Regions from separate parts of the Homo sapiens genome. Here all the other regions are linked to region 2. Evidence: promoter capture Hi-C in 16 types of primary human blood cells and fetal thymus (Javierre and others, 2016). All regions are on one chromosome and are shown on one strand. Each heading gives the region's core, a stretch centred on a gene start or on the middle of the fragment in contact. The rest is flanking DNA. Distances are from core to core; before and after follow the strand shown. Region 1 holds the start of CCNB2 (cyclin B2). Region 2 holds the start of BNIP2 (BCL2 interacting protein 2). Region 3 holds the start of ICE2 (interactor of little elongation complex ELL subunit 2). Region 4 overlaps ICE2 (interactor of little elongation complex ELL subunit 2). Region 5 has its middle 72 kb from the start of ANXA2. Region 6 overlaps ANXA2 (annexin A2).

The links. The method cuts DNA at HindIII sites, captures the fragments that hold promoters and counts their contacts. A CHiCAGO score of 5 or more calls a contact.
Region 1: a contact is called between the fragment with the promoter of CCNB2 here and the fragment with the promoter of BNIP2 in region 2, in 1 of 17 cell types (monocytes). The highest score is 5.7, in monocytes.
Region 3: a contact is called between the fragment with the promoter of ICE2 here and the fragment with the promoter of BNIP2 in region 2, in 4 of 17 cell types (M2 macrophages, erythroblasts, M1 macrophages and 1 more). The highest score is 8.2, in M2 macrophages.
Region 4: a contact is called between a fragment that was not itself captured here and the fragment with the promoter of BNIP2 in region 2, in 1 of 17 cell types (M2 macrophages). The highest score is 5.3, in M2 macrophages.
Region 5: a fragment that was not itself captured here is called in contact with the fragment with the promoter of BNIP2 in region 2 in 1 of 17 cell types (endothelial precursors); the score reaches 5.2 in endothelial precursors.
Region 6: a fragment that was not itself captured here is called in contact with the fragment with the promoter of BNIP2 in region 2 in 1 of 17 cell types (M2 macrophages); the score reaches 5.5 in M2 macrophages.

The regions. Positions count from the first base shown.
Region 1 is chr15:59,103,082-59,106,844 of GRCh38, reverse strand. CCNB2 (cyclin B2) reads right to left here and starts at 1,699. Exons shown (of 9, transcript NM_004701.4): 1 at 1,553-1,699. The coding sequence starts at 1,576. RefSeq lists an enhancer at 1,887-2,176. The HindIII fragment of the contact is 2,621 bases long and covers 1-2,431 here.
Region 2 is chr15:59,688,070-59,691,902 of GRCh38, reverse strand. It overlaps BNIP2 (BCL2 interacting protein 2), which reads left to right and starts at 2,583. Exons shown (of 10, transcript NM_004330.4): 1 at 2,583-2,768. RefSeq lists a silencer at 2,306-2,815 and an enhancer at 2,229-2,877. The HindIII fragment of the contact is 5,510 bases long and covers 1,673-3,833 here.
Region 3 is chr15:60,477,777-60,481,474 of GRCh38, reverse strand. It overlaps ICE2 (interactor of little elongation complex ELL subunit 2), which reads left to right and starts at 2,333. Exons shown (of 16, transcript NM_024611.6): 1 at 2,333-2,472; 2 at 3,406-3,538. The coding sequence starts at 3,498. It overlaps RORA-AS1 (RORA antisense RNA 1), which reads right to left and starts at 2,297. Exons shown (of 6, transcript NR_120342.1): 1 at 2,077-2,297. RefSeq lists enhancers at 2,532-3,059, 3,382-3,501. The HindIII fragment of the contact is 13,398 bases long and covers 442-3,698 here.
Region 4 is chr15:60,422,409-60,426,470 of GRCh38, reverse strand. It overlaps ICE2 (interactor of little elongation complex ELL subunit 2), which reads left to right. Exons shown (of 16, transcript NM_024611.6): 16 at 2,709-4,062. The coding sequence ends at 2,837. Among named protein-coding and RNA genes, the nearest start is that of ANXA2, 26 kb to the right of the region's middle. The HindIII fragment of the contact is 3,596 bases long and covers 24-3,619 here.
Region 5 is chr15:60,324,238-60,327,945 of GRCh38, reverse strand. No RefSeq gene overlaps it. Among named protein-coding and RNA genes, the nearest start is that of ANXA2, 72 kb to the left of the region's middle. The HindIII fragment of the contact is 1,656 bases long and covers 1,029-2,684 here.
Region 6 is chr15:60,362,129-60,366,037 of GRCh38, reverse strand. It overlaps ANXA2 (annexin A2), which reads left to right. Exons shown (of 13, transcript NM_004039.3): 4 at 1,515-1,609. Among named protein-coding and RNA genes, the nearest start is that of ANXA2, 34 kb to the left of the region's middle. The HindIII fragment of the contact is 225 bases long and covers 2,269-2,493 here.

The DNA.
Region 1 (3,763 bases), core at 450-2,949, 580 kb after region 2:
AACCTAAACTAGCTTTGATTCTTATGCCATTTCACAAATAAGAAATGCTCCTGTATGCATGATCTTTTAGAACTACAGCTTTTTAAAATGAGGTTGCCATAGAATGGATTTTCTCTTATATTAAGGACATTTAGAATGGAAGTAGTTTTCTTGAGTAATATAGTTTTAGCTCCCAAACTCAGGGAAGGTTGGAATTGTATGAAATAAAAATTGTCAGTTGACCTTAACCTGCTTTAGACATAATGTGCTTGGAAATAAAACTTGCTAGGAAAAGCAACTCATACCAAAAAAAGTTTATTATAGAAGTGATAAACATTTCATTAAAAAAGAAAAAAGCAAAAAACCAGCATGTCCTATCCCTGAGAGTTCAGGGTCCCGACTCTAATAAAACTCCCAACAAGGGGTTTGAGTGGATCTACCAGGCAGAGAGAGGGGCCAGGGAAACTCAAGCCTTCCCTGAACAGAAAGGTTTTGACTATTAAATAACGTTATAGAATACATTATTATAAAAAATTACTTGTCAGTTGGACTTAGATCCACAAAAGGATATTAATTAAATGCTAAATGTATTCAATCTATTAGGATTCTCAAAAGTCACACTTCAATTTCTTCCAGCAGCAACTGCCAATCTGAAAAAGTGTTTGAAAATGTAATGCTTATGGGTAGAAGCCTGGTAATGTGACTCAATTTAAATTCATCTGGATAGGAAAATTGGCAGCTTTTATCTAACCTTATAGCCAAGATGATGGAACTCAGGTGTGTCAGGGCCCTCTAGCTTTCGGCAAAGGAAAAAAGTAGGTCCCGGTACAATTCAAGCCCACAGGAAAAATACCCAAAACACCATAACACTTTGATCTCTGCAAGGATGAAATAAATGAATTTGGACCCTTTTCTCTCAGTCTGCCACATTGGTCCAAATTATATTCAAAAACCTCTGTTACATTTGAGTAAAGAAATTAATTTTTTAAGGGGACAAACCCATTTATTAGTGAACGTAGCATGGAAGACTTAGCGTGCCGAAATAAATGGGAAACTCATACAAAAAGAAATGTGAACAATCTGAAAAACAGCCTGGCAGTTGCCTGATGAAACACGCCGTACACTTTACTGCCTACAGAACCCTTCCAGTCCTCCTCCCAGCCGCCATCACAGGTCCCTTAGTTGGCAAGGAGTTGTAAGAAAGGGGGAGGGAAATCCCAGGAACGTGGAAGTAGATAACTCTCTAGCAATGAAGAGCACTCGGGGATCGCTCGCTGAGTACTAGGCCTAGTGCTCTGGGGGCTCACTTGACAGGCGCCATCTCGGAAGCGCTTTCCTACACTTCTCCCACCCCGGGGCAGGGAGGGGTTAGGGGAGGGCGGAATCCAGACGGGGAAAGGCGGGCCGGAGAGGACCGGCCGCAGGGCCAGGGACGCGGGCGAAGCAGTGAGCTCCGGAGAAGAGAAAAGCAGCCCCGGTTGGGACGGAGAAGCTCGGAGCAGATGAGAGAAGCGACAGGGGAGCTGTGGGGCCGACGGACTCGCCTCTGAGAGCGGTCCCCGGGCACACTCACCGTCGGGCGTCGGAGCAGCGCCATGAGGGACGGGGAAGGCAAGAGTGCCAGCCCGGCCCAGGGAGGGACGCGGACTGAAAAGGGAGGACACTAGCGTACGAGGCGCCGTTAGGACTGCTCTCCGAGCCCGCAGCGCTGGGGATCTTCGACGCTGTAGCCTTGTTCCAGGATTCAAATACCGCGTCGCTTGCGCCCCATTGGGCGGCCCTGCGCACGGGTCGCTGTTCTCATTGGCCAACACAAGATGCACTCTCGCACTCTCATTGGCTGAATTTTCTTAGACACGTTTGATTGTCACAACAGCCGGTTGGGGTGTTTTTTCTGCCTACAGTCTTTTAAAAAAAAAAAAACCCCAGTCTCTGAGACAAACAAAAAGGAACTGTCTCATTGGGAAAGCAGACGTAGGACGCCTCTGAATTTTGACAAGGCCTCATCTACGAATTTCTCTCGACGTTTGTAGTGGGTGGGCGGAAGTTGGTTGGCCTTTATTCCTCTTCTGGTGTGTTGGGGTTTAAGTTGTGTTGGCCTGGGTGCAGGAACCGGCCCCTCCGGGTTGCTCAGGGATGCAGTGTGTTAGGTGGTTGAGATGCAAAAGTGTGCTTAAAAAAAGAGAGAATAATGGCGTTTACTCAAAAACCCAAATTCTCAAGTAAGGCAAAAAAAAAAAAAAAAAGATAAAAGAGATTTGTGTGACTGGTGATTCATGTAAGTTCTCCATTGTATTCCCAACACCTAGTACATCGTTTGTCGTATATGGTTGGTGCTCAATAAATGTTCGTCTAATAATCAGCCCAAGCAAAGAATTCATGTCTAAGACCCCAAAAGCAAATGCAACAAAAACAAAAATACATAAATGGGACCTAATTAAACTAAAAAGCTTCTGCACATCAAAAGAAATAATAGACAACCACAGATTAAGAGAAAATATTTGCAAACTATGCATCGGAAAAAGGCCTAGTGTCCAGAATCTAGAAGGAACTCAAATCAGCAAGAAAGAAAATAATGCCATCAAAAAATGGGCAAAGGACATGAATAGATATTTCTCAAAAGATATTCAAATGGCCAACAAATACATGAAAAAATGCTCAACATCACTGATCATCGAAGAAATGCAAGTTAATACCACAAGGAGATACCACCTTACTCCTGCAAGAATGGCCATCATTAAAAAGTCAGAAAAAAAGGCCGGGCGCAGTGGCTCACACCTGTAATCCCAGCACTTTGGGAGGCCTGTTGGGCAGATCATTTGAGCCCAGGTGTTCAAGACCAGCCTGGGCAACATGGCAAAACCCCGTCTCTACAAAAATACAAATATTAGCCGGGTGTAGTGGTGAGCACCTGTAGTCCCAGGTACTGGGAGGGGGGCGGGGGGCGGGGGGCGGGGGGCCGTGTGTTGGGGCAGGAGGATCCCTTGATCCCATGAGTCTGAGGCTGCAGTGAGCCATGATTGTGCCACAGTACTCCAGCCTGGGCAACACATTGAAACCCTGTCTAAAAAAGAAAAAAAACCTCAAAAAACAATAGTCAAAAAACAGTGTAGGCGTGGATGTGGGGAAAAGGGAATGCTTAAACACTGCTGGTAGGAATGTACAACTTCTATGGAAAAAAGTATGGTGATTCCTTAAAGAACAAAAAGTAGTTCTACCATTTGGTCCAGCAATTCCACTACTGGGTATCTACCCAAAGGAAAAGAAGTCATTATATGAAGAAGACACTTGCACATGTATGTTTACAGCAGCACAATTCACAATTGCCAACCTAAGTGCCCATCGACCGAGTGGGTACAGAAAATGTGGTATATATACACCATGGAATACTACTCAGCAATAAAAAGGAACAAAATAATGTCTTTTGCAGCAACCTGGATGGAGCTAGAGGCCATTATTCTAAGTGAAGTAACTCAGGAGTGGAAAACCAAAAACCGTATGTTTTCACTTGTAAGTGGGAGCTAAGCTGTGAATATACAAAGGCAAACACAGTGATATAATGGAATTTAGAGACTCAGAAGAGGGAGGGTGGAAGGGGAGACAGGGATAGAAACCTACATATTAGATAAAATATACACTACCTAGGTGATGGGCACACTAAAATCTCAGAATTCACCACTATATAATTCACCCACATCACAGAAAGCCACTTATATCCCAAAAGCTACTGAAATAAAATTTAAGTGTATTAATTAAAAAATATTCATCTAATAAATGATCTTAT
Region 2 (3,833 bases), core at 1,334-3,833:
CCACGTTGGCCAGGCTGGTCTCGAACTCCTGACCTCGGGTGATCCACCCACCTCAGCCTCCCAAAGTGCTGGGATTACAGGTGTGAGCCACTGCACCCAGCTCATATTTTAAATGAAAAGAAGAAAATGGAGATTATAAACCACTAAGTACATTATCTGATTTTTATAAAGACTTATATGTGCAATTTATACATAAAATATATATGTGTGTGAATATATATATATATATAATCTGAAAGGCTATACATAAATATGTTAATAATAATTATCTTTTTGGCTTACTTGTAGTTTGTAATGTTTCAACAATAAGTATGGATAATTAACAAGATAGGGATAAAAAGATAAGTAATAGGATGGCTTACTCGAAACCAAAGCAAACACTGATCAAGCTTATTAAATAATAAAGTTACTAAAATGAAGAAGGAACTGAAGATCTTAAAAAAAAGAAATCACATAACTATATATGATTTCCAGTGATTTTCTGCCACCCTGTGGGGAATTCTGCACATTGCAGAACTGAAGAAGCAAAGTATGAAACTACAAAAACTTCTGTAAATCAAGATGAAATTTCTTGGCCCAAGTAGTTGTTTAGCTAAAGCTCTGTTGATCAGTTTTGTTTTCTCTACTAGCTATTTAGTGAAATTGCTAGACTAGGATAAAAAGAATACCTAATACTTAAATGTGATTACAATATGACAACCAAGGTCCTAATACATATATATGAATTCATCTCACAAAAACCCTATAAGGTAGGTACTATTTTCTTCCCATTTTATCAAAGAGACGGACTTTAATCTACCAATGGTGGGTAAATGTTGCCAAAGCAATGTGAAATCCAGGCAGAATGCTGCATTTTTAGTCAATGATTTAAAATTTTGAGCTTTTCTGTTCCCCTCAGGCCTGATCGTACCCCAATGGAATCACCCAAATACTTGATGCTGAGCCTTTCTATGGATTTATCAGATGAAACTTTGGAAAGGGACTTTTTTTTTTTTTTAAGACAGGGTTTCGCTGTCACCCAGGCTGGAGTGGAGTGGCGCGATCTTGGCTCACTACAACCGCCGCCTGCCAGGCTCCAGAGAGTCTCCCACCTCAGCCTCCCAAGTGGCTGGGACCACAGGTGCATGCCACCAAGCCCACCTAATTTTCTTCTTTTCTTTCTTTCTTCCTTTCTTTCTCTTTGCTTCTTTTTCTTTCTTTCTTTCTCTGTCTCTTTTTTTTTTTTTTTTTTTAAGAGATGGGGTCTCGCCATGTTGCCCTGAGGTCTGGCGATCTACCGACTCGGCCTCTCAAAGTGCTGGGATTACAGTCATGAGCCAGCACGCCCAACTGAGAGAGACTATGATGTTCTCCAAACAAATCTCATTTGGTTGAAACTCTACAGCTGAGTATGGTCTAATTTGAGTAGTTTACCTTGAGTACTCTAACCATGGTCTATAGACCTGGGCTCTTCTGAGAACTGTTTGCAAATGGTTCACAGAGAGAGAGTAGAAAACTCTATGTCAATTTTGCAGGTAATTTTATGGCTGTTAACTCTAACGATAAAAAGTTTTGACTTGGACTTTGTATGTCTTTTCATTTTTCTGTTTTATTAACTTGTCAAAAACTAATTGAAAATTGAAAAAAATAAACCGACCGTTCCCCCAGTGAAGAGAAGCACTGCTGTAAAGCTTTTCACACTCAAATATTACCAAACTCTAAGGTCGCTTCTGAGGCCTAACTCCCCAAAATGATGCCTCGGATATTTTTCCTCGCCTTATTTCTTTTTTTTCTTTTTCTTTTTTTTTTTTTTTCCTTTTTCCTTTTATTTGAGACGGAGTTTTTGCTCTGTTGCCCAAGCTGGAGTGCAATGGCACGATCTCGGCTCACTGCAAACTCCAACTCCGCCTCCGCCTCCGCCCTCGCCTCCTGAGTAGTTGGGATTACAGACGCGCGCCACCACGCCCAGCTAATTTTTGTTTGTTTAGTAGAGACGAGGTGTCACCATGTTGGCCAGGCTGGTCTCGAGCTCTTGACCTCCGGTAATCCACCCGCCTCGCCCTCCCAAAGTGCTGGGATTACAAGCGTAAACCACCGCGCCCGACCTCCTCCCCTTATTTCATCCATTTTATAATTCACATTATTGATCGCTGATAATTGCACCTATTGTAATGATACTGATAATTGCACCTGTTGTAATAATATTGATATTGATAATTGCACCTATTGTATTACAATATTATTATTGATATCGATAATTTCACCTACTGTAATGATCAATAAAGGCAGGCAGAAAGAAAACAAAAGTAACTGAAACTACCAGGCAGCGTCCCTGCGAACAGCAAAGAGGGAAGAAACGCCTTGAGGCGTAGTAACGCCACCAATAAGGAGTCGACGCGACGGGTCCGCCCACAGGCAAGGAAGGCCGACCCCGCGAGTGCAGGCGCGAGCGCTAGCCCGTGACGTCTGAGGGGGTTGGGGGGATGCTGTGTGGGTTTCAAGAAGACGCCACGCCTCCGCCGCCGCCACGCCCCCGCCGCCTCCACCGCCGGCTGCCGCGCCCGGAGGAGGTCGGGATGTTATCACTTCCGCCGGGGCTTCTCACTGTGTCCGGGTCAGCTGCTGCCGCCGACGCCGTACCGCTGCGGCCGGGGGATTGGGCCGGGGTCTCCACCGCCGACCGAGGGGAGCGGGCTCCGCTCGGCCCTGCTTTTTGCGACCTGGCCGTCAGCCCCACGTCGCCGGCCTGGAGGGGCGAAGAGGACGAGGGGGCCAAGGCTTCCTCCGGGGTGAGTGCGGCCTGGGAGAACTCGGCACGGTGGCTCCGGAGCTGGACTGGGAACCGGCCTAGGGGCGAAAGTCTGTCGGGCGCGTGCCCACGACGTCCGGGGAGAGGAAACCCAGAGAGTTACCCTTGGTAGGGGGAGCCATAGAACCTGCTCGGGAGGTGCTTCCTGGATCCCCGCCCTGCTTAGGTCCCCGCCCTTGGCTTGGGTCCTGTTTGTATTTGGCAGTTTGGCCCCCCACCCCGTCGCTTTTCCGTTTCTGGTAGTTGTGCTCGGGATGGAACCTTGCCCCTCCTCCGCTCCCCCACCCTTTTACCCTGGTGTGGGTGAAGTGGCTGGGCTACGATGGTTCAGTATTTATGACCAGCGTCCGTCCTGGTACAGAACAAAGAAACTTGGACTTCTGGTATGCCTCGTAACCGCGGGGAATAGACACGGAAGCAGCATAAGTAATCAGGGCTTTAATAGATCTTCCCTAGTACGCTAAACCAAATACAGAGTGTGTACGTCAAAAGCCGAGTCCCCGCGTGAATCTAGACACAACCCTTTCTGTTTAAATACCTGGCAAAATGGTTTGGATTTCTGGATGCATTTCATGCCGCTGGAGAGTTACTTGTCTGTGTCTTGTGAGCTCTTTGACGAAACAGCTTTTCCGGTGTTGCATCAAGATAGTTACGGTGCCTCCTATTTATTTAATTGAATAAACTATGTGATTGCATTTTAGTGTTGCTTTTTTCATTCTCACCTTCTCTTGATTAGGATCTCTATTTCACCTAATACCTGATTTCGTATTTTCAATTAAATGTAGTTTTTCTAACATTTTATAGGAATCTCTGCAATTGTAGAAACAAATTCTGTAATTTGTAAATGGATGTTTCCTCAAAGTTACAACTGACCTTACCCAATTAAGTTACCCCTGCAGACTAGTTTCTTGATCATTTTGCACATATTCTTAGTTCTTTTTGGTTTACATTTTCTCTAAACTCTATTCCTAGTCTTCATATTCTCTAGTGCAGCCTAATACTGCTGGGCTTAGACCGGAAGTATGACAGATCCACTTCTGCAAAC
Region 3 (3,698 bases), core at 1,084-3,583, 790 kb before region 2:
TGGGCGGATCACGAGATCAGGAGTTCAAGACCAGCCTAACCAACATGGTGAAACCCTGTCTCTACTAAAAATACAAAAATTAGCCGGGCGTGGTGGTATGCACCTGTTATCCCAGCTACTCAGGAGGCTGAGGCAGGAGAATCGCTTGAACCCGAGAGGCAGAGGTTGCAGTGAGCCAAGATCGCCCCACTATACTCCAGCCTGGGCGACAGAGGGAGACTCCATCTCAAAAAAAAAAAAAAAAAGAAAAGAAAAGAAAAAAGAAAAAGAAAAAAAGAAATGCTATCTGCACAGTGCCAGGCATTGTAGTGGTTGATTTTTTTAAGCATTCACAAACACTGTCTCCTAACTGGCCTCCTCCCTTCAATGAATTCCGTAGGTTGCCAGGTGAACTTTCCTGAAGCACAGCCAGCCAGTTCTGATTGTGTCATTATGTAAGCTTTTTTGTTTGTTTGTTTCCTAGCATTTTATTTCTTATGCAATAAAGTCAAACTTCCTTAGTCTGGCTTATAAAATCTTACGTGTTCTAGCTTCAACCAGTTTTTCCAACCCCTTTTCCTCTACTACTCTTCAGAGACCTTGCATTCCAGGCAAAATAAACTACCTATGGTTTCCTGTAGCATATTTTTTACATTAACATAATTTCTAACAATATTCTAAATCAGTCTAAAATGTCAGCCAGGGGTAGTGGCTCACACCTGTAATCCCAGCACTTAGGGAGGCCAAGGTGGGCAGATCACTTGAGGTCAAGAGTTAAAGATCACCCTGGCAAACCCCATCTCTACTAAAAAAAAAATACAAAAATTAGCCAAGTGTGGTGGCATGCACTTGTAGTCCCAGCTACTAGGGAGACTGACGCAGGAGAATCGCTTGAACCCAGGTGGCAGAAGTTGCAGTGAGCTGAGATCACACCACTGCACTCCAGTCTGGGAGACTCTGTCTTAAAATAAAATGTAGAACATGCTTCCCTAATAGCACACACTAGATTCTGTTTATGCAATAAGTTTATGCAGTTCCTTGTATTAAAAAAAATTATAGGAGGCCATTGTTTAGAACTTCTGCACTAGACCCCAAGAGACCAGACTAAAATAAAAATGGTATCACTCAGGCTCACCACACCGAAACTGAGTTATGTGGCCCTCCAAGAAATCAGGAGACAGAGGTAACAGGCCAGTTTCAATTTTCAATCAGCAAGATAATGAATTTCCTCTGTTTTAGTCCCTACAGCAAAGAGTAACTTGAAGTAACCTGATGTTAACCAATCAGTTATCTTTCTATTGTACTGTCTGTCTCCACCTTACCAGGAAAGTAACTTTGAAATGATCAATCTGCTTTTTGTTCTTTGTTTCTACTTTCTACAGACCTTTTTTCTGTCCGTAATGCCAACCTCCTCTGTTCCACTCATTGGGACACTCATTCCATTTTATGGAATGAAGTGTTGCCTGATTCCAGAATCGCAATAAGGCCAACTGAGATCTTTAGATGTGTCAAATTTTTGTCTTTTGACACTTGTGCTGGTCTGTCTAGAACGCCCTTTCTCTTCATTCCACATACCCACATTCTTCAAATGAGCTCACACGGCAGGTGCTCAGTGCAGCAACTGACATGTAAGTACTCAATACTATTCAAAACTGCGTTTTGTCCCTCACACTAGCTATTCCTCTCCCTCTAACCTCAATCTATACACCTTTCTTATGTAGTTTATTACTTTCTATTGTATTTAATGTAAATGTCTTAGATTGCCAGAGATCCAAAGCACTGGAAAAATCAGTATTCAGTCTTAGTCCATGTGTACCCAGCACCAAGCACAAAGTACTCTGTTTACGGTCAATAAATCTTTCCGTAATGGATGAGAACAAAACTAGTGTTTGAACTCACAGCTAAAACTGGATGGGGAGTGGAGCGGAGGTGAAGGAGCACTTAATGAGGCCCTACTATGTGCCAGGTACTGTGCAGAGCACAGCTTCTTCCTTTGTTTCATTTAATCCTTTCCAAAAAACCGTATGATGCAGCAGTAACAATTTCATCTCCATTTTACATATGAGGAGTTTGGGTTACGGAAGTCAGGAAACTTGCCTGAGGTCACAACCAAGTATGTTTGGGTCTTTCCAGTACCGCACTTGTCGCTTGTCCGCCTTCCAATTTATCACTCCCCTCCTCTCCCCGACGAAGGTCGAGGACTTTCTAGGAAAACACGCAGTCTCCAACCACTTCCGCCTGGCGAGCCCAGTCTCGCACTTCGCTGCCAGAACCACAGCGAGCGCTTGTGGCGGGAGGAAAGGAGGGGAGCAGCCGTCAAGACGCAAGGCCCCGCCCACTATGTCGCTGAGACGTCATCACGCAGGGCCGAGTCGGCGCGGCCACATCCTTTAAATATGGTCTTTTTTGGGCGCGCGCGACAATGTGAGGAGTGGGGTGGAGCGTGTGTGGTGTGTGGCTGCGGCCTGGGCAAGAGCCGCCGCGGACCATGAGGTGGGCGGAAAGGCTGTGTTGCAGCCCAGACGCGGACGGGAGGGCGCTGCCGGGCCAGCGGGCGTGCTCATGCAGGGGCGGGAGGAGGGAACATGGCGGCCGGGCCAGGACCCTTTGCTCCTGGCTCTGCGCGGCTCCTACCCCTGCTTTGCTTGCCCTTTTACCTGCTTTTCTGGAACCTTGTTTCCCCTCTCTTTGCGTCCCCTTTCCCTCAGCCGTTTCTTTTGCCTTCCTCGACTATTCCCCCCCAGCTCCACACTGGGTCGAAGTGTGAGAGGTAGATTAAGTGGGAGCCGGTCGGGCCCGTTCGGTGTCGAGAGACCGACTCCTAAATTTGATTAGGTTCTCGCAGGTCACTTTATCAGTCTGCCTGGGGTCACAGGAGAAGTACTGAACATGAGAGATCAAGCCTGATTTGTAGTCCTGATGATGTCTGTAAGTGATCTTGTGAAATGTCACTTAAGTTGACCTCAAGTCTTCTCAAATGTGAGGTTCTTTGTGAAAGGCCTAAGATTCCTGATATCGAGGTAGCTTTTGTCATAAAGTGCCTGCCAGAATCTGCCCCATAACAAAGCATGGTCGGGAAAACAAAAGATTTATTTTGGCAGTAAGGGAATGGAAAACTGAGTTGACTTCCCGTTCCATGCCATCAAGTGGCCTAGTATGTAAGCAATGAGAACACCGTTCTGTTTCAGCTCTTATTTCCATAGTGAGTGTCCTGAGAGTAACACTCCCGGCGTAGATTAAATGGAAAAGGGCTCGTCCTGTATCGTCATTGCTGCTCTGCTACAAAGAACCTTGGGTCTGCTGTATTCTGTTTTAGGTGCCACAGTCTGTTGAGGGTAGATGTTTAGGGAGAGATTCTTCCTCACCTAATAGCACCTGGCCTAGCCAATCACTTGCTTTTGATCTTGGCCTTTTGTTTTTACTCAGCTGAGTAAGTTCTGGAGGGATCCTGCCTCTTGGAGCCTTCGCAGCCAGGCAGCTGTGAACTGTGAGCTAGAGTGAAGCAGAAATCTAGGAAGATGAGCTCCAAGATGGTCATAAGTGAACCAGGACTGAATTGGTGAGTTGTAGCCACTTTGTAATCCACTGAAGAGGAGTGTAGTGGGGCTGATGGTTGACATAAGAAAATAGATTTCTGGCATAGAGAGATTTGGAGGAAACAGAAAATACAAGTTTAGGGTCTCAGAATTTACCCTATCCTCATCTTCACATACGGAATG
Region 4 (4,062 bases), core at 572-3,071, 740 kb before region 2:
TCTTTGTTTAAATACCATAAGCTTACTTACACAAACCTAGAGGGTGTAGTCTACTACACACTTAGGCCGTATGGTATAGCCTATTGCTGTTAGGTAGTCTACAGACCTGTACAGCATGTTGCTGTACTGAATACTGTATGCCGTTGTAATACACTGGTATTTGGATATCTAAACGTAGACAAGGTAATACATTGCACTGTTATGTTGTAACAGCTGTGACATCACTAGATGATAGAAATTTTTCAGCTCCATTATAATCTTTTGGGACCACTGTTGTATATGTAGTTCATTTTGACCAAAATGTGACTGTATTTGGAAAAGGAGAAATTCCATATGTTCACAATTTGGCCACATAATTACAACAGTTCAATTACATGTGTATCACGGAGTGTGCTTCATGCATTCAGTCCAGGAACAAATACTTAACGAGATTATCCAGGCCCAGGTTGTTGTAGAGCCCAGCATTAGGTACAGTGGACAATTAGATAACTAATAGTTGGTTTGATATATTTTTGAAAGCCAGTGGAAAGTTTTTGGTGATCTACTCACCTCCCCACAATCTAGCCCTGTGTTTGATAGGAATTACCCCATCTTCTTCCCTACCTCCTAGCTAGGCCATGGGATTGGGCCTTCTAGTCCCAACCAATCTAAGTGCAAATATGGATTCTAGTTTTAGCAGCAATGGTAAGATGACAGCTTTCAGGAAACCAGGGAAGTAAGACCTATATGAAATAGAAATCATCTGCATATTTTCATGGTGTAAAAATTTGTTCAAACGTTTCTGCCTCTAATGTGATCCCATAGTCACGAGTCCACTTGAACTCTGATCTCATCCTTGTATAGTGCCTTTGGTACTAACCCTGAGAGATATGCCAGTAGAGCCTGCATCTGCCTCCCTACTGCATCAAGTAGAGATTGTATTTAAGGGTCCCATTTGCTTCCTGGGCTACTTTTGACTTCTGCTTCCAGTCTTTCTTGCAGCAGCTTCACACTTATCCCTTTTTTCTTTCTACATCTTCTGTAATAAACATTTATTTTACACATTCAGACACACACAGTCTTGCAGTGGAGGTTTTCAAAATGCTTGCTTTTCTCAAAAATTTTAACAGATAGAATTAGTGTGGTCAATATACCTTTATAGGAAATACCAGCTGAGTGAGGAGTGGTATAGATCATCCAAAAGTCGCAGCACTTTTCTAATCAGTATATTACAAAATTTCATCAGATTCACACAGACAAATCTGTACTCAATTTGTCCTTTCTGGTCAGGTAAATGTAAATAAAAAAAAATGCTTTTTAAAGGGACAGTAGATATTAAATAAAGGAAGCCAGAGTCCGAGCTTTTTCAGTGAGTCTGTAACCCCTTGGAGCAAATGCCAATAGTATTTCTGTTGGGCTAGCATTATGAGAGAGAGTGCTTGGAGTTACACTATCACCCTTCAGTCCCAGGCCTGAAATTGACTGGACGGGATATGAAGAAATAGAGGAGAACAAGGTGGCCAGGGAAAATAAAGGCAGATATGGGCAGGTTCTGTGGAAATAGTTTCAGGCTATACAGCTTTGGTCCTTCTCTGTGAGATTGGCCTTCTCCATTACTGTTTTTATAGATCACATCTTTAACATGACTACATAGCAAGGGATTCTGTATTAAGAATAGACCACCTTGGCTGGGCGCGGTGGCTCATGCCCATAATCCCAGCACTGTGGGAGGCTGAGGCGGGCAGATCACTTGAGGTCAGGAATTCCAGACCAGCCTAAACATGGTGAAACCCCATCTCTACTAATAATACAAAAGTTAGCCAGGCATGGTGACACACACCTGTAATCCCAGCTGCTCAGGAGTCTGGAGTCAGGAGAATCGCTTGAACCCAGGAGGTGGAGGTTGCAGTGAGCAGAGATCGCGCCAACTGTCCTCCAGCCTGGGTGACAGAGCGAGACTCTGTCTCAAAAGAAAAAAAATAGACCACCTCTCTTTGACTGTGTGAGCTAGAAAGTGAGGGTAAGGAAGGGTAGACTTGAAGGTAGAACCACAGCAAAGTTCCTTCCCCCATCCTCTGTATTCCCCCTTCCAGTTTTTTCTTCCCCTTTTCTTATTTCTTTCTTGCTCTCCTCTTTCAGCCCTTCAGGATTTCCCTGCTACTTGGGTTCTTGTCTTGAAACTTCCTTACACTTTTACTGTTTTTTTTTTACTTCCCTTTTTCTTAATCTTCATCTCTTTCCTCAATTTTCTTTCCTTATCTTCCCTACCCTTCTTATTATCTTTCTTGTTTGTCCATGTAATTTCTTCTCCCTGTTTACCACCTCTGACCTTCTTGTATTTCCTTTCGCTCCCTCCCTATTACTCCTTCCTTTTTCTTGTCCTTCAGTTTAATTATTTCAAACACATCACACATAAGGCCTGTCATTCCCTTGATTTCTAATTTATCTTTTCAACCTCTAATAAATTTAACACAGAGAATAGTTTCCCCATTCACTTTGCTCCCCATCTACTCAGATCTATCAACTTCTCTGATGGTTATTTGAAAGTTTAGTACTTAAAAATGTGTCAGATTAAAACTTGTTTAGAAACAGCCAGCTAGCTGGAGATGAAAAATATATAAGAGCTTATTTGCAAGGTGGTTAATACATGTATAAATACTACAGAGTTGACTGTATATAGGTATGTTGTAGATACATTAAGCTATTCTGTTCTCTGCTTCATCTCTTAGATTGGTGGAACGAGAATGCCTACACGCAGCCACAGGAATCCAGTTTCCATGGAAACCAAAAGCAGTTGCTTGCCTGCTCAGCAAGTTGAAACTGAAGGAGTGGCTCCACATAAAAGAAAAATAACTTGAGGACTGTACCATGGAAAACTAAATTTAAAAAAACAGTTATAACAGTGTTTAATTTAGATAAGTTTGAGGGAAAATAATCAGTAGGCAAGAGGAACATTTTTCCTGTAGTAGCTAGAGTGCCTTGAAAAAATGTGTTGGCTATGTGAAGGAATATTTCAACTAAAATGGAATGGTATGCTTTTCACCCTTGAAGTTTGAGGAGGATCTTGATATGTTTTAACATTATCATGGCAGGGAAATATATAAAGAAGAAAAATATTTTTACATTAAACCTTTTCTAAAAATTGTAAATAGAAAAATAATTTGGTTTTTTATCAAGAACAACACTTATCGTTATGTATTGTGTTAGTTATATTGCCAGTCTGTTGCGACTGACTCAAAAAGTTAAATGTTGCCACTGCTGAAGATGATTATGAGCATCGCAAACTTTGTTTCTGACCCATTTTGACAGTTTTTATATACTCCTTTAAAATGATGAATGTTACAGGTTAATAAAGTTAATACCTTTAAAAACTTGGTGAAATTCCATTACAGAAGCCAAAAATAAAAACTCCCTGCCTCTGAAAAGTCAGATTACTGACTTCTTGTTTGGCAACCATCAGTTTGTTTAATAAAAGAAAAAATTTGGTGGTATAACATGTTTGATGACAGATGCCTCTATCTCTAGATTCAAGCTGAGTGTTGAAATACACTGCTGAAAGCAAAGAGATAGGTATGTTTTCCAGAAAAAAAGTCAGTGTCATTGCTCCAGATGACAAGGTTAATGTGGTAAAGCATAAGCTTTTTTTTTTTTTTGAGATGGAGTCTCGCTCTGTTGCCCAGGCTGGAGTGCAGTGGCATGATCTCAGCTCACCACAACATCCACCTCCTGGATTAAAGCGATTCTCCTGCCTCATCCTCCCGAGTAGCTGGGACTACAGGCACCTACCACCAGGCTTGGCTAATTTTTTTTTGTATTTTTAGTAGAGACAGGGTGTTACCATGTTGGCCGGGCTGGTCTCAAACTCCTGACCTTGTGATCCGCCTGCCTTGGCCTCCCAAAGTGCTGGGATTACAGGGGTAAGCCACCGTGCCTGGCCAGCATAAGCTATTTTTATCCTCATCTATACTGATTGATTTAAATTTTCCGGGCCTGCAGATGAATTTGGAAAAGGGCATAATCAACTGATGTTGCTGTAGCAAATTTGGACTTAAGAAACTACAGACAGGGCCGGGCGTGGTGGCT
Region 5 (3,708 bases), core at 607-3,106, 640 kb before region 2:
AACTCCTGGCCTCAAGTGATCTGCTCACCTTGACCTCCCAAAGTGCTGGGATTACAGGCATAAGCCACTGTGCCCAGCCTCTTTGTTTTCTTTCTAATCTGTAAAATGAGAAGTTTGAAATCTATAATGCCCAGAGTCCCTTCAAGACCTAAAAATGTGAGGTATCAAAGAGAAGCTCTCATTTCTCAATCTGTTTTAACCCAGATTTCTGGTCAAAGGCAGGAATTTTCACAAAGATCCTTATCTTTAGTGAGGCTTCTAAGTAGATTATTTTGAAGCCATAAAAATGATATATATTTTACAGTTAACAAATTATGGAAATACTTGAATATAATAACTCCCTTTAATATTTCCCCCTCACTTTGAATTCCCTATTGGAACAGGTATCAGAGAAAAGCCATACTCACTTCCATCTAAGAACTGAGGCCTCTGGGAGCCTTGCTCCACTGGGGATATACCTTCTCCTTGCAGATGGGTGCACTCAACGTCACAGGGGCAGTGATGGGTGACATGATCCACCCAGCCTGCAGCCACTACATCTCATGCTATTGGCCTCTGACAGTGGTGCTGATGGGAAAAAACTGTCCCTCCCATGGCCAGTTGAAGGACACCTGGGGAGAGATGCCACCTCATGAGGTAGACTTTCTCTGTTCCCAGATCAGTAAGGAGCATTGCCTTGCATTTGTGCATAATTTTTGTGTATTTTAAGAGTTCTTGTATATTTAAGAGCTCTCATGAATTCCTGTTTGCTTGAGTGAATGCATTTTAAGGTGTTTCTGGAGAATAGGAGAGGATACAAAATCTAACAAGATACCAAACTTTCAATCCTGAATTGCAACTTGTGTCAACATTGCGCTACTGTGGGTTTGTCAAAACCGCCCTTTAAAAAAAAGTGACTCTAAAGTTGTATTGATGACATTTGACCACAAGAGGACGCTCCAACAAAGCACCTCACAGCTCAAAAGTCTACGTCTCCTTTTCAAACATTTACATGCTGCAATTTCTGCCTGGTCTTATGATATAAAGCTTAATGCCACAAATATTGTTTCAAACTTTATGAAAAGAGTTTTTCTTTTTTTTAAAAAAAGAAGATTGGGAGCTATAGCAGTGAATCCTGAGCTCAAGGTAAACTATTTTCATTAGCTGGAGGTGCTTTATAATTTCTCCATCAGTTTTCAAAAAAGGGACAAGGACTTTAAGAACCTTTTCTTCCTTTAACAATCAAACGAAACAACACAAACTCAAAACGCTTTAAGAACATTTCAATTTCCAAACTAGACCTTTTATGGATCATTTTCCTAAGAGTTCTAAGTCTAGAAATGTGATTAAAGAAAACAAAAACAAACAAACAAACACAAACAAAAAAACATTTTCCAGTCTAGACGCAGCCATCAGCGAAAATGCTCCATTACCTGTTACCTCTTCTAGGATACAGATGTTTGAAAAAGAAAGTGGGCAAGAAGCTATGTGACGGTCTCTGAAGTAAATTAAAGCCCTGGACTGCATTTCCCTAGTAGTCAGATAAAACTTGAGGGCATAATTGCCAACAATGAACACCCTTTCCGTTTAACCAATCTTTACTGATAATAAAATAATTAGAATAATTTATGTGTCTGTGCTATTATTAACGTGGCTTTGCTTAAAGGAGATTCAGCTGGTTGTTCACGGACGTTAAGAGGGTCTCTCCTCCCACCTTCTGAGATGACATGTTTATACCCAGGCAGCACTTCTAAATTTTTAATAGAGAGGAAGAGATTCCATTTAATTAGGTAGAGTGACTTGTTTATATGCAGGTTATACATTTACGAGTTCTCATGAAGAACGGAAAATACCCATTGAGCAGCCTTTGAAGTTTCGCTTGTTTAAAGATAATTGTAAACCCAGCTCAATGGAAACAGCATCTCAGTCAATCAAGTGATTTGAGCATAGAGTAGAGGGAGTTAAATCCAGGTTAAATAATTGCACAAATCACATGTCGATCAATGTTCAAAGGATTTTTTTTCTCTCAAATCAAAGCTCTTCCATCTTACATTTGATTGGAGTATTGAAACTGGGTTATAGAAAAAAATGTTAAGGATGTAACAAGATTTAAAAATGTTAAGGATGTAACAAGATTTTTTTTTACTTAAAAATTATCCACCATTTATATAAAATCCTTTCTCTTTTTTCCTTTTGATTTTTACTTCATATATTCTATATAGCTTATTTTATTTGTGAATTAGGTAACACAAACATGTCACTGTCACAAAAGCATTTTTCTACATTCATAAATCCTTTCTGGAAATGAGAAATCATTTTTTTCTTAAACTCTGACCTAAGGTAAAAATTCCAAATATTTGCGTGCCTTGGATGGTATTGCAAAAAGGCCACCTAAACTAATGAGGTTTCTTGAATTGGTGTACAGAAATGAATTACAATGCTTAAGAAGTTGAAGAGATTTCTCGTGATTTTTAAAGTAATATTAATGATCGTATGGAATGAGAAATTGAGCTTTGTGTTATTACTATAGGATTAGTTTTTAGTTCCTGAAAGCTGGTCTATTTATAGGTATATAGGATGGAATTAAACTCTGAAAAGGTTAATTTTTAAAAAATGTTCTGTAGAAGGTCTATTTCCTATCACCTTTTATAAGTTTCCCTTTGAATTGTAGTTGCAATATGCATTTGGAGTGAGTCCAGGAAGCTTGAATAATAATGTAATCCCCGGGGGAGCCGCTCTTAGCAGAGTGGGTAGGATAAATGAAATGCTACATACAGATTCCTGACAATATATTCATCTTGATATTATCGCAGCTGATGGATTGTAGCAAGGCTGTTCCTAGGGCTTCCCTTTGCCATCTTCAGTGTCTTTATCATTTCAGTGCGAAAAAGAAAAACCCCATCACACAAAAGAAATAAAACATCGTTAATTGAAAAGTAGCACCTTAAAAATATTTGTGGTAGGAAAAATATTTGTTTTGCTGCAAGGAGAACAGAGAGTAGGGAATAAAAGACTAAAGAAGAGAGAAAAAGAAACCAGTGTCCTTTGCTGAGCTCGCTGGCCACATGTAAGGCTCTCAAACATTTTAACCGTTGCACATCATTTTCTTTTTCTTCTGTGTGCTTGTCTAATTTATTTTCATAAGAAAACTCTGTTCCTCTTGTGCGGAGCCAGCATAATGTCGCTGAAATCTCGGATGATGTGGTTTTAAGATCAAACAAGACTTAATAAGGTGGGATTTGTTTTCCTATTGACCTTCTTATTGCTTGGGTCCCCCTGACAAGCTTCGAAGTGAACGGGAGGAATTAGGGTAGCAGCTCTTCAGAGAAACTCATCTTGGCTGGGGCTCCACCTTGAAACGGGAGTGCAAGAGATTGCAAATGGCTCCAAACGAGGGGGCACACACAGACTTGCAAAATGGAAGCGGGTTCTTCCATTGCAGAAAGAAAGAGGGGCACCCAGCAGGATAAACATTCAAAGTGGAAGACACTGCTAGTGGATTTATTTTTATTTTAGGTTCTGACAGATTGGCCAATGTCCTTGATTGGAGTTGGAGTTCATCAGAATGACTAGTTCTGGCCTAATTTAAGAAACAAAACCTCCTAACTTTGTGGGGGCTGCTGGAGAGCAGGGCAGGGCATCATCCATCTAAGAGAAAAACAAAGGAGTTTGGTCCTTTTTTAAAAATGAAAGTTTCCTTAGGAGTCAAAACGGACTGAATTTAAAGGA
Region 6 (3,909 bases), core at 1,132-3,631, 670 kb before region 2:
CTCCACCAAAAAAAAACGAAAACCAGTCAGGCGTGGCGGCGCGCGCCTGCAATCGCAGGCACTCGGCAGGCTGAGGCAGGAGAATCAGGCAGGGAGGTTGCAGTGAGCCGAGATGGCAGCAGTACCGTCCAGCTTTGGCTCGGCATCAGAGGGAGACCGTGGAGGGAGAGGGAGGGGGAGGGGGAGGGGGAGAGGGAGAGGGAGAGGGAGACTCAGCAGCAATTGGATTTCTATGTTTACCTTGGCTACTCTAAAAATGAGAGCTAAAGTTATAGATGCTACAGTTAAGATAGCAAGCATATTGGTATGGACTTGCTTTGAAATGAGCATATACATTTTAAAAAGTTATTTATTTTTATACCCAGAAATTCTAACTTTATACTTTTTGATCTAACACACTTGAGAATTCAAAATACTTCCTCTGTCAATCTGCTGTTTGTCTTTGTCTCAAGCGTTACAGTTTTGACCTTTCTGTTTCTTCAGGACTCCTCTGATTTTCTTCAGGCCAAGCCATTTGTAGTTTGCAAGTGACTTTGTAGGTTTAGCAACTCTACTCTCTCACCCAAGAGTTACCTATCCAGTTATGGCAAAGACTGTTTCTTTCATTAAACAAAGTTATTAATCAGTCAGGAGAGAGACTTTTCACATTCTGAATTTACAAACTGTGCTTTCTTAAGTTAAATGGCATGTTAGGAGTATTTCTGATATGAAATTGGAAACTTGCAGACACCAGAAGGCATTGCTTATCTTTGTAAATACACATGTTCCAATTAAAATAGGTACTAAAATATTTTGGTGGCACCTCAAAACTCCCAATTTAGATTTAATTTAGATTAAAACACTTACTCTTTTTAATAAAGTTATAAAATTAATTATTAAAATTGCCTATTGAAGATTAAAGGCAGTGGAACGTTTATTTTCCTTACAAAACAATTTTGTCTTCAATAAGTGTGATTGTGTTAATCAATTATGCTATTAAAAATACAACTGCCGTGTTAAATCTGACTCATTTGTCATGACAGTTTTTATAATTATAGAAATTATACCTAGCTGCTTATATAGCCATAATCCTGCAATAAGTATAAATAATTATCTCTATTAATTCAGTTTGCAGTTACTCTCTATTAAATCCCGAGTTAAATGGCAATTTGGGGACCTTCATTTAAAATCCTACTAAATCTCTGTTGTTCCATCTGACTGCCAAAGCCCCACATATGCACCTCCTACTGTTGATTCCAGAAACCAATTTATGAATAAAATAGTTTTTAAACCACAAGTATTTAAAAGGTCCATTTAAGCTTGAGGTTTGAGGCTCTCAAGAAAAAAGGAAAGAGAGTGTACACATTGGGTAGAGGATGCTGACGAAAGAGATAGAACAAATCTTGGTGTCTGGGTATTTCAGTTTGGAAAACAGTATATAAATTTCAGTTTGAAAAAGTCTGCTTGACACCTTCTATGTAAGCCCAAAATACTAGAGTATACTGAGTAACGATTAACAACTTGTATTTCCATAGGTGTGGATGAGGTCACCATTGTCAACATTTTGACCAACCGCAGCAATGCACAGAGACAGGATATTGCCTTCGCCTACCAGAGAAGGACCAAAAAGGTACAGGCAATTCCAGGGATGGAGGGCATTTCTTGTTGAATTTTTGTTTCCTCAGACATTGCTTTTTCTTTTCATGAATTGTGGCTCTCATGCGCAAAAGACTTGTGGGACCCTTGGATATCTAAGATTTTCTTCTTAAATCCTTGTAAGAGTCACTGCACATGTGTGTGTGCGTGTGTGCACGCGCGCGTGCACCTCAGGTCATCAGGCATTAGGTTCTCATAAGGAGTGTACAACATAGATCCCTCGCGTGTGCAGTTCACAGTAGGGTTCGCGCTTCTGTGAGAATCTCATGCCACCGTTGATCTGAGAGGAGGCAGAGCGCAGATGGTCACGCTCGCTTTAGAGTGCTTGGGAGCTCCTGTGTAAGGACAGTACCCTCCCCCAACCCAGGCTACCTGGAGGGAGAGCTTCTGGGAATAGAAAGTTAGGAATAGGGAACAACAACAATAACAACAACAGGCACCATTTATTGAGTGCTTACTTTGGGCCAGGCACTGTGCTCAGTTTTGTACATGTAGCAACTCATTTCATCTTTATGACTTCTGCTGGTTCTTGATAAGATGTTTCTAATTTAATTTTAGGATACTAGCCTCCACTGAGTGTTGATCCTAACAAGCTCCTCTCATTTTAAAAATATACACTTGAATTCTTAAGCTTTTTGCAACGAGTGGGCTTAGTTGTTAGTTCATTTGGTCTGCAAAGCTATCTTCAACATGCCATGCTCCTACTATTTAAAGGGTCTTTGTGTGCTTTTTCCCTTTGCTTGTCCACTAGTGGTTAAGAAACAACCAGTGCGTGTTCGTCCTTTATTTTGTCAGTTGTAGGAAATTTTATTTTTAAGGACGTGCTGCTTTATTTTTAACTTCTTGCTATTAAAAGCTTTTGATTTATTCTTGGACAGTGCAGTAAGTGTGGCTTCCTGCAGCTCCCGTTTGACTTATGGCTTTCACTTGTAGCCACAGTGGAGGTGAGCTGGAAGGATTCTAGAAGAGATATTTCTGCCCTTGGGATTGACATGACCAGCAGGGTCCTGGGAGTTGCAGGTCAAGCCTTGCTACACTTCCATCCCCCGCACTCTAAATGGTTGGAAAGGACATAAATAGGAAAGCATCTGGCTTCTTTCATCTCAAGTGCATTAAAATTCTTCTTTCACTAGAAGTGTATTAATCTTGTGTAGTGAGGCATAGAGGGGAGTGTTTTATTTCTGCAGCTTCCCAAAGGGGTCTGTGAGCTGGTAGAGCCAAGTTCCCAGTGGAGCAGAAGGCTCATCTCTGGATAGCAAGCAAAAAATTTGATCTTTCAGCTGTCACAGAGTATGGTCTTGGAATACATTTGGGTGTGTACACACACACATAGAAGCCTGAAACTTTTTTTTTTTTTTTTTTTTTTTTTTTTTGTGACAGGGTCTTGCTCTGTCACCCAGGCTTGATTGCAGTGGTGTGATTCGGCTTACTGCAACTTCTGCCATGTGGACTCAAATGATTCATCTCAGCCTCCCAAACTGCTGGGATTACAGTCATAAGCCACCACACCCAAAACCTAGATCTTGGTTTTAGATTAGATATATGTAGAACAAAGCTCCCACATACCCTCTAGGAGGGAAGATATTACCAGAATTATGATGAGGTCCCAAGATCTCACAGGCTTTGCTGTGTGCTGGGGACAGCTCATCATCCTACTAATTCTTGACTCTCAGCCTTAGGCCAAGGAGAATTATGTATCTTTTATAAAAGATATGTAAACTACTTGAGATAGTTTCAAGTGAAACAATCGGCTGTTTGTGAAATAAAGAAGAAAATTTGTGAAATAAGGAAGATTTGTGCTGCAGAGTTCTTTAGGGATACGGGCTGCAGCTGCCCAGGTGATGAGCTTGAAGAACCTAGGCCCGGCTGGCAGAGTGGAGAGGAGCTGGGAGAGACAGCTGCTTTTACGACTCTTTCATGTTCTAGCAGACGCCAGATGCGAGGCTTCTCCTTACAGGGAAGGGTTATGTTTGATTTATCATACATTTCTGGAGTTTTTGTTTAGTTTTTGTTAAATGCAAAGCTCTGTGCTGGACATTGTGAGAAACAGGAAGTTGAACGCCCATAAGGAGTTTAGAATAGAAGTGGAAGAAGTCAGTAGGTGCCCAAATGCTATTTGAGGTTTGAATAGAGAATGGGTAGAGGGGAGTGTCAAGGGTAGGCTAAGTTTGGAGTTACCTAACCTCAAAGTTCCAAACTGGGAGACTGGTGTTATAATTGGGAGCTACTGCTTTTACAGTCCCCTCCTAAGTGCCGTGTGTTCCCGGGACATTG